Linked DNA regions of Homo sapiens: regions 2 and 3 are each linked to region 1. Evidence: promoter capture Hi-C in 16 types of primary human blood cells and fetal thymus (Javierre and others, 2016). All regions are on one chromosome and are shown on one strand. Each heading gives the region's core, a stretch centred on a gene start or on the middle of the fragment in contact. The rest is flanking DNA. Distances are from core to core; before and after follow the strand shown. Region 1 holds the start of AUH (AU RNA binding methylglutaconyl-CoA hydratase). Region 2 overlaps LINC00484 (long intergenic non-protein coding RNA 484). Region 3 overlaps AUH (AU RNA binding methylglutaconyl-CoA hydratase).

Region 1 (4,557 bases), core at 1,485-3,984:
TTGCTGAGACTTTAAAAACAAAACAAAATACGTTCTGCTTATACAAAATGAAAAAATACACTCAAAGTGAAAGTCCTCCTTCCCTAGAACCAGCTCATTCCCTTCCCCAGAAGAAGCCACAGTTATCACAGTTACATGTAATGTAACCTTCCAGAAAATGTTCAACGTATCTACATACAGAAATAGAGTTGTATATTACCATTTGGCTTGTTGTTGCTATTTTACATAAATGGATCATATGTTCTGTTGGAGCTATTCTACATAAATAGGTTCATACATTTTTTCTTTTTTTTTAAGAGACAAGGTCTTGTTGTGTCACCCAGACTGGAGTGCAGTGGCTCCATCATAGCTCACTGCAGCCTCAAAGTCCTGGGCAGTCTCCATCTCAAAAGAAAAAAAAAGAAAAGAAAAGGAAATTTGGTTATAGAGCTATGCCTCCTACAACAAATTACAAATATGGAGCCCAGATAACAGATGAGACCTGGTGTATTCTGCACTACTTACCCCCACCCACCTAAAGTGCTGCATGCTGTTTGAGGCTCCTGTGACTAGGAGAGTTATCCTATTCCTTAGAGGCTGCTGAGAGCACCAAATTTTGGACCCACCTCTAAGAGAAATAAAGGCACCCAGGAAACTCCTTCACCTGTAGTACCCTTGACCTCATGTTTTTCTTTGCACTGCTTATTGCTGGTTCAACAGTAAAGCAAAGCAAAGCCTAGGTAATGTTAGCCAAGCCTGAGTCGTCATTCTTGCCAATTCTCAAAGGAGGCGGGGTCAACTTTAAGAAACCATGATGTATGTCCTATCTCATCAGGAAATCAAGGCTAAAGAAAAAAAAAAAAAGAAACCATGATACCCAAAAAAATTTTCGTTTATTATCTTTTATTATCTGATATTCTCTCTTCTGTCCATTCAGATCCTAACTTAAAGTCTGTCCAGACATTCTGCACAAATATTCCTTTAATTGCATTCAAGTCATAACGACCAAAAAAATAGAATATGGTGCATATTAGTAGCTGTACTTGCAATCCCTTTATATCTAACATATTGTTGGTACACTTAACGGAAGTGAAGTCCCGGCATGACTAAGCTTACCCAAAAGATGATGGCATTCAGGCTCTAATCACTCCAGTGCTAGTCTATGCTTCCAGCTGAATTTCTTACTATTCTGCTTATGCCACACTTGCCTTATGTTACGTCCCAAATACACCACACATGTTCACATCTCCATGCCTTTGACCATGTTCTTGTCTCTGTCTGGAATAATAAGTAAGGAATAAAGTCATTCATCACACTCCTGAAGCACTGCTACGTGCTAGTGGCAATTTACATTAACAATCTCATCTCATCTTCATAACAAACCTATAAAGTTGGTATTGTTTTTCCTGTTTTACACGTGAGATAAGTCTGCCCAAGAACCCTCACAAATGGCAAAATCCACTGCCTATTAAAGAATGCCTTGGAACCCCTTTCAAATGGCGAAACCCTGCAGGTATTACAGCCCTTTCCTCTTACCATGCCTTGAAAGTTCACACAGCCTACTAATAACCAGGATCTGCTTCACTACACTAAAACCAATCACGACTTACACGCTTTTCACTTCTGCTTAACAGATTATAGGTGCTCAACAAATGCATGTCAAAATTAAAACACTGGTCCTCTGGCTTAACCCGGAGGTTAAGGGTGGAAACTGCTATTCCACCCTTCACGACCCTTTTAGCTTTTCCCTGCACTGCCAGTGAAAGGAACTGAGCTGTAACAGTATTCCCTAGGATTGTCAGCCTCCTTCAAAGCCTTCAAAGCTCTGTATTGTATTGCTAATGATGTCTCCTCCCGTAGAAGGTAGCTCAAGGGCAAGATCCATACCATCCACATTCTTATCGCCAGAGCTGAGGAAAATAAAAAGTGCTCAAAATTGTTTAAATGAAGTGGAACAGTCCCTCAAGACTAACTTTCTAAGAGAAAATGAACAAGAGGAAAAATTGTTCCAGCTGAGCAGCTTCAAATTTAAGATTCTCCGTAATAATAAAAGGCAGTTTCACCGCAGCTTTTACAACTCCACCACTAATAGCTGAGTTTACAGAAAGCCATTACACAGCAACAATAAAGCCTGGTAGCAAGGATTAAATCCCCAGGGTATATATTGACCTTGGCTTGTCTGGAGCGGAGGGCGTAAGCTGCACTTCTGTTTGCCGCGCTGAATGCGGTCACTTTACAGGTAAGCTGCTCGGGGGTACACGTTTAGGTTATTAAAAGCAAGAAATAGGTGCACAAGGAAGCGGCCACGCTGGGTGAGTAGGGAGGTGAGAAAGGGGAGGGACCCAGGTTCGGTGCGCCTGCCTGACCTCGACCCCGCGTCCTGCCGGCGGACGCTGCACCTTATGCCCGTCCTGAGAGCGAGCGGCCGCCCGCTGCCCCGCGCCTGCCCAGCGTTCGCACCTCACCTCGGTTCTCCTCCTCCAGGTGCCGCACCCGCAGCTCGTCCTCCGTCTTCATCTCAGAGCTGTAGCCCCTTTTCGGGGCGGGACCCCCGGCCGCAGGTACCCAGCCCTGGGCCCAGATCGCCGGGCCCGCTCGCCGGCCTGCCAACGAGCCGGGCAGCCTCAACCCCGGGCAGAGCCACGCACTGCAAGCGGCCACCAGGCGGGCGCCGCCAGCATGCAGGGATCCCAAGGCCCCAGGTGCCGCCGCCACCGCGGCCGCCATGTTGTCTGTTTACGGCGTGGACCTGCGACGGCCGCTCCGCCCCCGCCCGGCGCCGACCTGCCGCGCGCACGCGCACGGCGTCCGGACCCGCCGCCTCGCTCCGGCTTGGCCCCGCCCTCCGGAGCCGTGTTCCCGCCCCTCACTGCCCCGCCGAAGCCCGGTGACCCGAGGCCTTGCCCCATTCTCCAAGCGAGATTGGATGGTTTGTCCAATACAAAAGGAAAGAAAGTAGTTTTCCAAGGTTATGGAATAATTCAGGGAAGACTTTTCTATAAGAACCACCCGGAGGGAATTATCTCCCCGTACTCCCTGGACCATGCCCTGCGGTCCTGTGTTAAGTAAGCTGCAAAAGTGAACAAAAAAGTTTTGTCTCCTCAAGTTGGCTGAAAGTGTGGCAGCCCATCGTTGGTCACTGCCTTACTTATGGATCTCAGGTTGTTGGTTTAGCGTCCCTGATAAGCATAAATGATGTTTACTACGTGGCGTTCAGGAAAAGGATGAGAACAGCAAACAGGCAAAGGAGTTCTTTCTCCAGCCCACCCACTCGTACCGATGTCCCATGGCCCTTCCTGGACGGAAAGAGTCTTACAGGGGTTCAAACAAGCCATACGCTGAGATGGGATTTAGAGTATGTAGCTCTTCCAGAAACTCGGGATATCAATTTAGTGTGTAGGTACTCATCAAAGCACGTTGCAGTATAATTAATGCTACCTAGCTTTTATCAGATCTCTAATGGGAAAGCTTGCATTTAAGAATACTGGGCAGGGGGCGGTGGCTCACGCCTGTAATCCAAGCACTTTGGGAGGCCGAGGCAGGTGGATCACCTGAGGTCAGGAGTTTGAGACCAGCCGGGCCAACGTGGTGAAACCCTGTCTCTACTAAAAATACAAAATTAGCCAGGTGTGGCGGCACACGCCTGTAATCCCAGCTACTCGGGAGGCTGAGACAGGAGAATTGCTTGAACCCGGGAGGCGGAGGTTGCCCTGAGCTGAGACTGCACCATTGCACTCCAGTCCAGGCAACAAGAGTGAAACTCTGTCTCAAAAAAAAAAAAAAAAAAAAAAAAGAATACTGTTTGAAAAGTGTGCTGCTATGAGCATACGTCTAGTGCCACAGAAATTTCTTGTATTTTTTAGTCCTAAGCAAAACATCCTTCATTATGTCCTCAACTTTTATCCAATGTAGAAACAAAAAGTAGACTGAATTCCATTACTGCATCTGCTGTAAAATGATGTTGAAGGCACTTTTATTTTTATTTTTATTTTTTATTTTTTGACAGGTTCTGGCTCTGTCGGCCAGGCTGGAGTGCAGTGGTGTGATCGCCTCTCGCTGCAACCTCTGCATCTCAGGCTCAAATGATCCTCCCACCTCAGCCTCCTGAGTAGCTGGGATCACAGGCACACACCACCACACCTGGGTAATTTTTGTATTTTTAGTAGAGATGGGTGTTTCTATGTTGGCCAGGCTGGTCTTGAACACCTGACATCAAGTGATCCACCCAACTTGACCTCCCAGAATGCTGGGATTACAGGTGTGAGCCACCATGCACAGCCCACTTTTTATTCTATCTTTTGTAAAGTTCCATGCAGGAAAATTTTCCTGAAGTTTACTACAAGGAAAACTTTGCTTCCTTTGTATCTTTCCTCTTTTCTGATAATGATGTACATGTTGACTGCTGGGTGTTGTGATTTTTATTGTTATGGTTTCTTTCTAATTTGGTCTTGTGGTCACCAGAGGGAGGGTAAATCTGGAGGTGACAGGGAGTTCAGCCAGTGGAAGGGGGTCAAGGAAGGGGCACTTGTGGAGCTAAAGCCTCTGTTGGGGTCCAGCGTGTTACCCAAGCAGTTTCCC
Region 2 (4,557 bases), core at 1,346-3,845, 190 kb before region 1:
AAACCCCGTCTCTACTAAAAATACTAAAAAAAATTAGCCAGGCATGGTGGTGGGTGCCTGTAGTCCCAGCTACTCGGGAGGCTGAGGCAGGAGAATGGCGTGAACCCGGGAGGTGGAGCTTGCAGTGAGCGGAGATCACGCCACTGCACTCCAGCCTGGGCAACAGAGCGAGACTCCGTCTCAAAAAAAAAAAGAGTAAATCGTTTTGTAAAATTTCTAGGAATTATTCTCAGCCTAAAACAGTGAGTTGTATACAGTTTCTATTAATTGAGGTTTGAAATGTACACGCATAGTAGCACAGTGGGTGAAATGACTGATCTGAAGTGTGCCACTCACTGAATCTGCTCATGTATACGTTCACGTGAGCACCACTCAGCTTCCCCAGATTTCCTTGCTATCCATCCCAGTCTATAATTACCCCCAACCAGAGGCAAGGCAGCGTTTTAGAAACTTTATTGAGGGTATGATTTCTGTCCAGTAAATTGTGTCCACTTCAAGCTTCCAGTCCAGTGAGTTTGACTATGTGCACACTCAGGTCACAAACCAAGGTCACAATCAGGAGGCAACACACCTTCATCACCCACAAGGGACACACCTTGGTCACCTTTGCCTCATCTCCCACCACCCTGGACACCAGGACACCACACATCTGTTTTTTAAATCACTATAGATTAGTTTGAGTTGTTTAATTTGTGTGTAAGAGAAATCATGAAGGATATACTCTTTTCTGGCTAGCCTCTCTCACCCGGCATAGTGATCTGGAGATTCCTTGATGCTGTGGGGAGTATAAAGAGTTCATTCTCTTTCATTGCTGAATAGTATTCCATTGTATGGATATACAACAGTGATTCTCCATTCACCTGTTAATAGACGTGTGGGGTTTTTCCAGTTTGGGGCTACTGTGAATAAAGCTGGTATGAGCATTCACCCACAGGTATTTGTGTGAACATATGTTTTATTTATTCTGGGAAAATACCCAAAAGTGGCAAAACTAGGTCATATGAAAAGTATATGCTTAACTTTAAGAAATTGCCCAATAGTTTGCTAAAGTGTTTGCATCATTTACACTCCCACCAAGACTGATTTGGTATTGTCGGTCTGTAATTTTAGCCATCCTAGTGGACGTGTAGTGATCTCTCATTGCAGTTTTGTTTGCAATTCACAGACAACTGATGATGTTGAACATCTTTTCATGGTTTTTTTGGCCATTTATATATGTTATATTTGTTGGTCATTTCTATATCTTCTTTGGTGAAGTGTCTGTTCAAATAATTTGCCCATGTATACATTGTATTCTTTGTCCTTTTACTATTTTTGTTGTTATTTAATATTTATTTTATAATCTTAAACTTAACTCTGCAATCCAGCTAGAACTGGAGGGGAATAAGGAAAATATGGAACCTAAAGAATGCATCAGCTGGGCGCGGTGGCTCAGGCCTGTAATCTCAGCACTTTGGGAGGCTGAGGCGGGCAAATCATGAGGTCAGGAGTTGGAGACCAGCCTGGCCAACATGATGAAACACTGTCTCTGCTAAAAATACAAATACTAGCTGGGCATGGTGGCGCTTGCCTGTAGTCCCAGCTACTCAGGAGGCTGAGGCAGGAGAATCGCTTGAACCCAGGAGGCAGAGGTTGCCGTGAGCTGAGATCGTGCCACTGCACTCCAGCCTGGGCAATAGAGGGGACTCCATCTCAAAAAAAAAAAAAAATGCATCGATAGCAAAAGATGATAGGCTACTGTGAGCAAATGGGGTGGAGGGGTGGTCTCCAGGTTACAGAAAAAGTAGTCTGGTGGTTAAGATAAAGGACGAGTCAAATGTATTAGACTGTCCAGAGTCAGCAATGGTGATCTTCTTGCTGGTCTTCTTATTCCTGAACCCAAAGTGCTCCATGGCCTCTGAGATATTCATGCCTTCTTTCACCTTCCCAAAGACCACATGTTTGCCTTCTAACCACTCAGTCTTGGCAGAGCAGATGAAAAACTGGAAACCGTTTGTGTTGGGTCTAGCATTTGCCATGGAAAGATGACAGGACCTGTATGCTTTGGGATGAAGTTTTCATCAAATTTCTCTCCATGAATGGACTTTCCACCAGTGCCATTATGGCCTGTGAAGTCGCCATCCTGACACATAAACCCTGGAATAATTCTGTGAAAGCAGGAATCCTTATAACCAAATATTTTCTCTCTAATGCTCAGAGTGCAAAAGTTTCTTGCTGTCTTTGGAACTTGGTCTGCAAACAGCTAGAAGGAGACACAACCCAAGGGCTCACCATTATCGGTGATGTCCATCATGGTTGGTGGCAGGGGGCCCTGGGTGGTGGCAGCATCTGCAAAAAAAGCCTGTCCTTTTACTATTTTGAGGTTTTTTTCTTTTTCTTTTCTGGAGACATGGTCTCACTCTGTTGCCCAAGCTGGAATACAATGGCATGATCATAGCTCACTGCAGCCTTGAGCTCCTGGGCTTCAGTGATCCTCCTACCTTAGCCTCCTGAGTAGCTGAGACTACAGGCATGCACCACCACTCCTGACTATATCTTTAATTTTTTTGTAGAGATGGGGTCTCACTATGTTGCCTGGGTTGGTCTCAAACCCCTGGGCTCAAGCTATTTTCCCACTCTGGCTTCCCAGAACACTGGGATTACAGATGTGAGCCACTATACCCAGCCATAATATTAAGATTTAAGCACAATTTATGTTTTGTGATTACAAGTTATCATCAGATATAGGTATTGCTAATATTTCCTCCTATTCTGTGACTTGCCTTCATTTCTTAGTAGTGCCTTTGAAAAGCAAAAGCTGTAAATTTTGATAAGTCCAGTTTATCAATTTTTTATGGATTGTGCTTTATGTATCCTATGTAAAAAACATATGCCACTCAAGGTTGCAAGGATTGTCTCCTATGTTTTCTTCTAGGATTTTTATGTGTATGGTCATTTCAAGTGAATTTTGTATACAGAGCAAGGTAAGAGTTGATGTTCATTTTTTCCTTATGCATATACTCAGTTGTTGAAAAAAACATTTCTTTCTTCATTAATTTGAGTGGGTATCTTTGTTAAAAATTGATTATCTATGGCTATCTTTGCCTGTCTATGACTATCCCTCTTATGTTCAAGGGCTCTATGTATCTAACATTTCAGTATTACCATACTACTTGGTTACTGTAGTTTTGTAGGAAGTCTTAAAATCAAGTGGTGTCAGCCCTCCAACTTCTTAAAAATGTCTTTGACTAATGTAGGTCCTTTATATTTTCAAGTAAATTTTAGAATCAGTTTCTCAACTTCTACAAAAAATTCTTTGCTAAAATTTTGATTAGGATTGCATTGAATCCATGGATCAATTTGAGAACTGATCAAGTGGATTTTACATGAGGAATGCAAGGATGGTTCAACATACATAAAGCAATAGATGTGAAACATCACTTAACAGAATTGAGAACAAAAACTATATGATCATCTCAACAGATGCAGAAAAAGCATTTTATAAAATTCAGCATCCCTTACATGATAAATTGATAACCTCAACAAACTAGGCACAGAAGGAAAATACCTCAAAATAATAAAGCCCATATACATCAAACCCACAGCCAGCACCATACTAAATGGGGAAAAGTCTAAAGCATTCCCTCCAAGAACTGGAACAAGGCAAGGATGCCCACTTTCACCACCCATATTCAACATAGTACTGGAAGTCCTAGCTAGAGCAATCAAGTGAAAGAAATAAAAGGCATCCAAACTGGAAAAAAGTAAGTCAAATTATCCCTGTTCACTGATGATGCATTCTTACATCTAGAAAACCCTAAACATTCCATCAAAAACTCTTCAATTCAATAAATAAATTCAGGAAAATTTTAGGATACAAAATCAATCTACTAAAATTAGTAGCATTTCTACATATCAATAATGATCTAGTTGAGAACCAAATCAAGAAGGCAATTCCATCTGCAATACCTACCAAAAAATTAAAACATCTAGGAATATTTTTAACCAGGAAGATGAAAGACCTCTACCAAGAAAGCTACAAAACACTGATGAAAGAAATTGTAGATAACCCAAATGGAAAAACATCCCATGCTAATTGATCAGAGTTAATATTATTAAAGTGTCCATACTGTCAAAAACAATCTACAAATTTAATGCAATCCCTACCAAAATACCAACATCATTTTTCACAGATTTAGAAAAAAATAGTCCTAAAATTCATATGGAACTGAAAAAGAGCCCAAATAGCCAAAGCAATCCCAAGCAAAAAGAACAAAGCTGGAGCCATCATATTATCTGATTTCAAATTATACCACCAGGCTACAGTAACCAAAACAGCATGGAACTGGTATAAACACACAAATCAATGGAGCAGAGTAGATAACACAGGAATAAAATCACATATTTATAGCCAACTGATCTTTGATAAAGTCAACAAGAACATATACTGGGGGAAGGACACTCTTTTTAGTAAATTGTGCTAGAAAAACTGGATTGTCATTTGCAGAAGAATGAAAGTGGATCGTATTCTCTCACCAGATAAAAAAAGTCAACTCAAGATGAATTAAATGTAAGATC
Region 3 (4,557 bases), core at 1,226-3,725, 150 kb before region 1:
ATGCAGTAAATATTTAAAAATGTATATCTAACTTTGATTCTGTTTCTGACTATACACTACTAGCTTTATAAATCTGAATGAATATGACATTTACACATTTGAATGAAGTACACGGATGGGTCCATTCCAGATGCTTATTACACCGTATGAATAATCTGCTCTTCACTTTGGTCATTAAGGTTCCATGTGCTGAGGCATATAGTGGATCCGAAAGACACTTCCAGGAAGTACATTTATTACATTGGCATCTTAAGAATTTCTGTTCCTTTTATTCTCCTTTATAGCGAGGGGGCCTTTTCTCTTTAAAAGCAAGAAGACCTTCAAGTCTGTCTTTTGTTGGAATGGTCTAAGAAAAACAAAATATTAAATATGTCAAAAATGTTAAAACAACTGTAAAAGTTTATCAAGCACTATCTAAGAAAACTACTTAGAACCACATTCTAAAATTTTGAAATCAGTCACCTGAACAATTCTCCTAATTATGTAACCAAACTCATCCTTCTTACTCCAAGTGGTCCTCTACCCCATTTTGCTCTTCTTTTTCTAGTTTCCTAATAAGGTGGAAGGTTATTATCGATTTAGATATTTTCTCTTTTCTATTATATACATCCAATGCTATTTCTATCTAAGCACTGCTTTCAGTATATCCCACAAACTTTGAGAAGTTGTATTTTCATTTTAATTCAAAATACTTTATAATTCCTCAAGACATCTCTGACATATAACATTATTTAGAAGGATGTTGTTTAATCACCCAATATTTTGGGTTTTTCCAGCAGTCTTTCTTTTATTGATTTCTAGTTTAATTCCATTGTGGTCTGAAGAATACCTTGAATAATTTCTGGTGTTTACATTTAGTAAGTTGTAATTTATGGCCAAATGTGCTTTTAAAATTTTTCTTTGGGCTCTGAGGCTATTTCTAAGACGTTTGTAATTCACTTTCCTCATGGCACGTACTCATCAATGACAGGTGGTGATTTATATATACAAGCTGGGCACAGAGTCACACTCTAGATACTGCTCCTTTAAACGAGTGCTCATGCAGTTTCCAACTCCCAGGAAAGGTAGAACAAAACTTTTTTGCTATTTCAGATGCCCTAAAACAAAGTTCTATCTTTCAGAGAAAGACAAAAAAGGGAAAACATTTTTTTTTTCCTCTCCAGGAAGACCTAATAATTTGTATGCAGTCATCCCTCAGTTATCTGCAGGGGATTGGTTACAGGACCTCCTGCAGATGCCAAAATCTGCAGATGCTCAAGTCCCTTATATATTAATAAAATTGCATATCATATTACCTACGCACATCCTCCTGTATACTTTAAATCATCTCTAGATTATTTATAATACCTAATATAATGTAAATGGCATGTACACAGTTCTTATACTATATTGTTCAGGGAATAATAAGGAAAAAAGTCAGTACATGTTCAGTACAGATGCAACCATCTTTTTTTTTCCTGAATATTTTCAATTTACACTTGGTTGAATCCACAAATGCAAAACTTACAGATGAAAAGGGCCGACTGTGTAAAAAATAAAACTATAATTTCATTAGTGAACTTTCAGTGGTCAGGAGAGACAGATCAGAGGTTCAGGAAAAGCCAAGCAGTCTCACCCCAGGTTGCATGGCAGGCACACGCTCATCACCACTCTCCTCTACCTCTCTACATTGCAGTGGGAGGCCAGGACCAATCCCACAAAAGAAAGCATAAGCCTAGAGAGACAGCTCCTGCACACCCAGGACTGACTCAGTTACTCTAAGAGTTTTCTAGATTATATAGACAAGAGGCATTCCTGTGGAACAGAATCAGTCATAAGAGCTGGTAACAAATAGCAGAAACAACTAATTTCAACCCATTTGTATGATTTTGGAATGGGCGCAAGGGTAATCTTGCTCAGTGAAATTCATTTGAATTATACAGAAGGTAAATATAATTTGTAAGGGTCATCCTCATTGAATTTGTGATTGCATTACATACCTGAGCATAACAAGCTTCTTCTATGGCTAACCCTGTTACTAAATCGACCTGAGAATAAAAACATAATCCATTTCAGCAGAAATAACTTTGCGAAATGTGGTATATTCAACAGAAATTCAAATTGAATAACCTTATCCCCAAAGCACCCAATCCTTTGATATAGTACAGCAGATCAGAGTGTGACCAACATGAGACACAGAACCAGGCTTCCTGGGTTCGTCCTGACTCCCTCACTTGGGAGCTGAGTTACCTTGGGGAAGTTATTTAACCTCTCTGTGCTTCAAAGAGGCATGTCTGAACAAGGGGCTAATTATAATGCTCACCAAATGGGAGTATTGTGAGGATTAAATGAGTTAATCTAGGTGAGGCCTTTATGTCGCGACACACACACACACACACACACACGATGCTTAATACATAGTAAGGGCTATATAAGGTATTTGCTATTGGTATTGTTACCATTATGTAAATATTTAAATAAACCAATCAAATACTTTTGCAAATTTATGAAACTGTATTTACTGTTATACAGTATTGACTGTATAAAGTCAATCTCTTTTTACTGCTATACAGCCCAGGAAGATGCGGAGGTTCCTTAGTCTACCAAGAAGGAAGCACTTTTCTTCAAAATACCCATAAGTTACCCAAAATATAATAACTGCCATGAAAAGTCCAATAAATGGGTATGTGCACCACCCCCTCCTCCCAGGCCTGGGGCCTTCACTCTTTTGGAGTCATCTCCCTGGGGTACCCCCAGGACACACAATGGATTCACCTTATACCTGCATTGCGTGTGCCTCCTTGTAGAAGGCACACTGAGAAGCTAAAGGTGGAAAGAGCTAGCTGTTCTTGGAATGTTTTGTATAATATAATACTGATGCTAAAAATGCACAGAATGCCCTGTTATTTTGGTTTTCTATGAACTACTAGCCAATAAATCTGTCTGTTAACTGGATGGCAAGAATAATGAGCATGTCATAAGCTTCAGGGCACTGGTAAAATTACTGAATTCTGTGCTTGTGATACTGAATTAGCAATAACTGTAAGAATGAAATAAATGACGTACTTGCAAGGAACTTCAGTAGCTTTCAGTAATAGTAGCATTTAAACAACCATATTTTAGAACTTTAAAAAAAATGTAGAAGTCTAAACATGGTTCATTTAAATTAAATCTCCACTCTCCATTCCCAAAACAAACTCAAGCATTAAGGAACCTACCTCCATCCCTTGATTAATTGCTAATTTTGCCACTCTCATTGCAACAGGTCCCTAAAATTCAAATTAAAGAAACAGACTTCAATTATTTTTTATGCAAATTATGTCGTATATCTCAGTAAAATTCAGAATTCCCACCACTGGATCCATTGCACAGCCAGCAATGGCTGTCAGATACTAGATGGAAAATTTTCTGAGCCTTGCAAGGCTGTAATTAAAGAGCAACTGCAACAACCACATCAGCACATTATTTAGATTCCACATGTTTTGTTATGCTGCAAACTCCGGATCCTTAAAGGTGAGCAGGTAGTGCATGTCCAGCTGTGAGCTTGCTGTTCTTCAGCAACACTTCCTAGAAGTTAAGTAGAGGAAGGAAAAGGAGGTAGTCTTTGCCTCAGTACCACACCAATTAGGGGTTTTGAAAGAAGCTTGGGCTGGGGATGAGGCTGTTGCTATTGATTAAGGTAGGGTTCTGATATCATCTCCTTCAGACACTGGCTATATTTCCTCCATTCGCCTTGACAACTAACAGCAATGATGGTGGATTAATCAACAGTGTCCTCTAAGCAGTGCTCCCACAGCACACATAAATATGAAGTCTACATAAGTCTTTCAGGATGCAGAAGAGTCACAAGGAATGAACTGGATATCTGTTGTGAGAAGGAGAATGTTACCTGTGTCTTGCAGAAGCCAAACTCTTACCAAGCAGAAAAACCAGAATCCCTCAGATGGAATTTCATTATTGGATCACATTTTAAAGTCCTAAAATACCATTTATGGGTAATAAATGTGAATTCAATGCTATATTTTGAACTGAATGCTCTTTTGAATTAAAACACAAGGTAGGCTCTAAACAACAGGCACAGCAAAGGACTCTTGGATGGTGACATGGATAAATGCATGAAAAGACATGTTTTCCTATCAAGGAGTTTCTATTATTAAATTTGACCTATCTAAATTTTCTTCCAAATCATGTTTACAAATCTTTTTCAAAGGCCACAATTTCCAAGGCTATAGTTGTTAGACAAATATCTTATTGATAATTCTTCCCACTGTGATTTGTATATATCATAGACACCACCACCATTTTTTTCATGATAATCAATCCATTTTATTAAATGGTGTGCTCCTCTAATTTTTCCATTTTCATTGTCAACTGACCAAGAAAAGGTGCTTGTCAAACTCCTAGATGCACACAAATCCCCATCCTCCTTGTTAAAATGCAGATGTGGACTCAGTGGGTCTGAGATGGGCCTGAGATTCTGCACGTCTAACAAGCTGCCAGGAGATGCCCAGGCTGCTGGTCCACAGACCACACTTTGGGAAGTAAAGTTTAGAAAGCCATGAGAAAAACAGGAAAATT

What was found. Contacts are between HindIII fragments. The CHiCAGO score rates a contact against its expected background, and 5 or more counts as called.
Region 2: a contact is called between a fragment that was not itself captured here and the fragment with the promoter of AUH in region 1, in 1 of 17 cell types (total CD8 T cells). The highest score is 5.3, in total CD8 T cells.
Region 3: a contact is called between a fragment that was not itself captured here and the fragment with the promoter of AUH in region 1, in 3 of 17 cell types (activated CD4 T cells, total CD8 T cells and endothelial precursors). The highest score is 9.1, in activated CD4 T cells.

What each region holds. Positions count from the first base shown.
Region 1 is chr9:91,359,184-91,363,740 of GRCh38, forward strand. It overlaps AUH (AU RNA binding methylglutaconyl-CoA hydratase), which reads right to left and starts at 2,735. Exons shown (of 10, transcript NM_001698.3): 1 at 2,445-2,735. The coding sequence starts at 2,706. RefSeq lists a silencer at 2,466-2,905. The HindIII fragment of the contact is 2,357 bases long and covers 1,089-3,445 here.
Region 2 is chr9:91,167,759-91,172,315 of GRCh38, forward strand. The region is part of intron 2 of LINC00484 (long intergenic non-protein coding RNA 484); the gene reads left to right. Among named protein-coding and RNA genes, the nearest start is that of LINC02937, 6.8 kb to the left of the region's middle. The HindIII fragment of the contact is 4,198 bases long and covers 497-4,557 here.
Region 3 is chr9:91,214,080-91,218,636 of GRCh38, forward strand. AUH (AU RNA binding methylglutaconyl-CoA hydratase) reads right to left here. Exons shown (of 10, transcript NM_001698.3): 8 at 3,198-3,248; 9 at 1,980-2,027; 10 at 1-346. The coding sequence ends at 269. Among named protein-coding and RNA genes, the nearest start is that of LINC02937, 53 kb to the left of the region's middle. RefSeq lists an enhancer at 3,202-3,802. The HindIII fragment of the contact is 968 bases long and covers 1,992-2,959 here.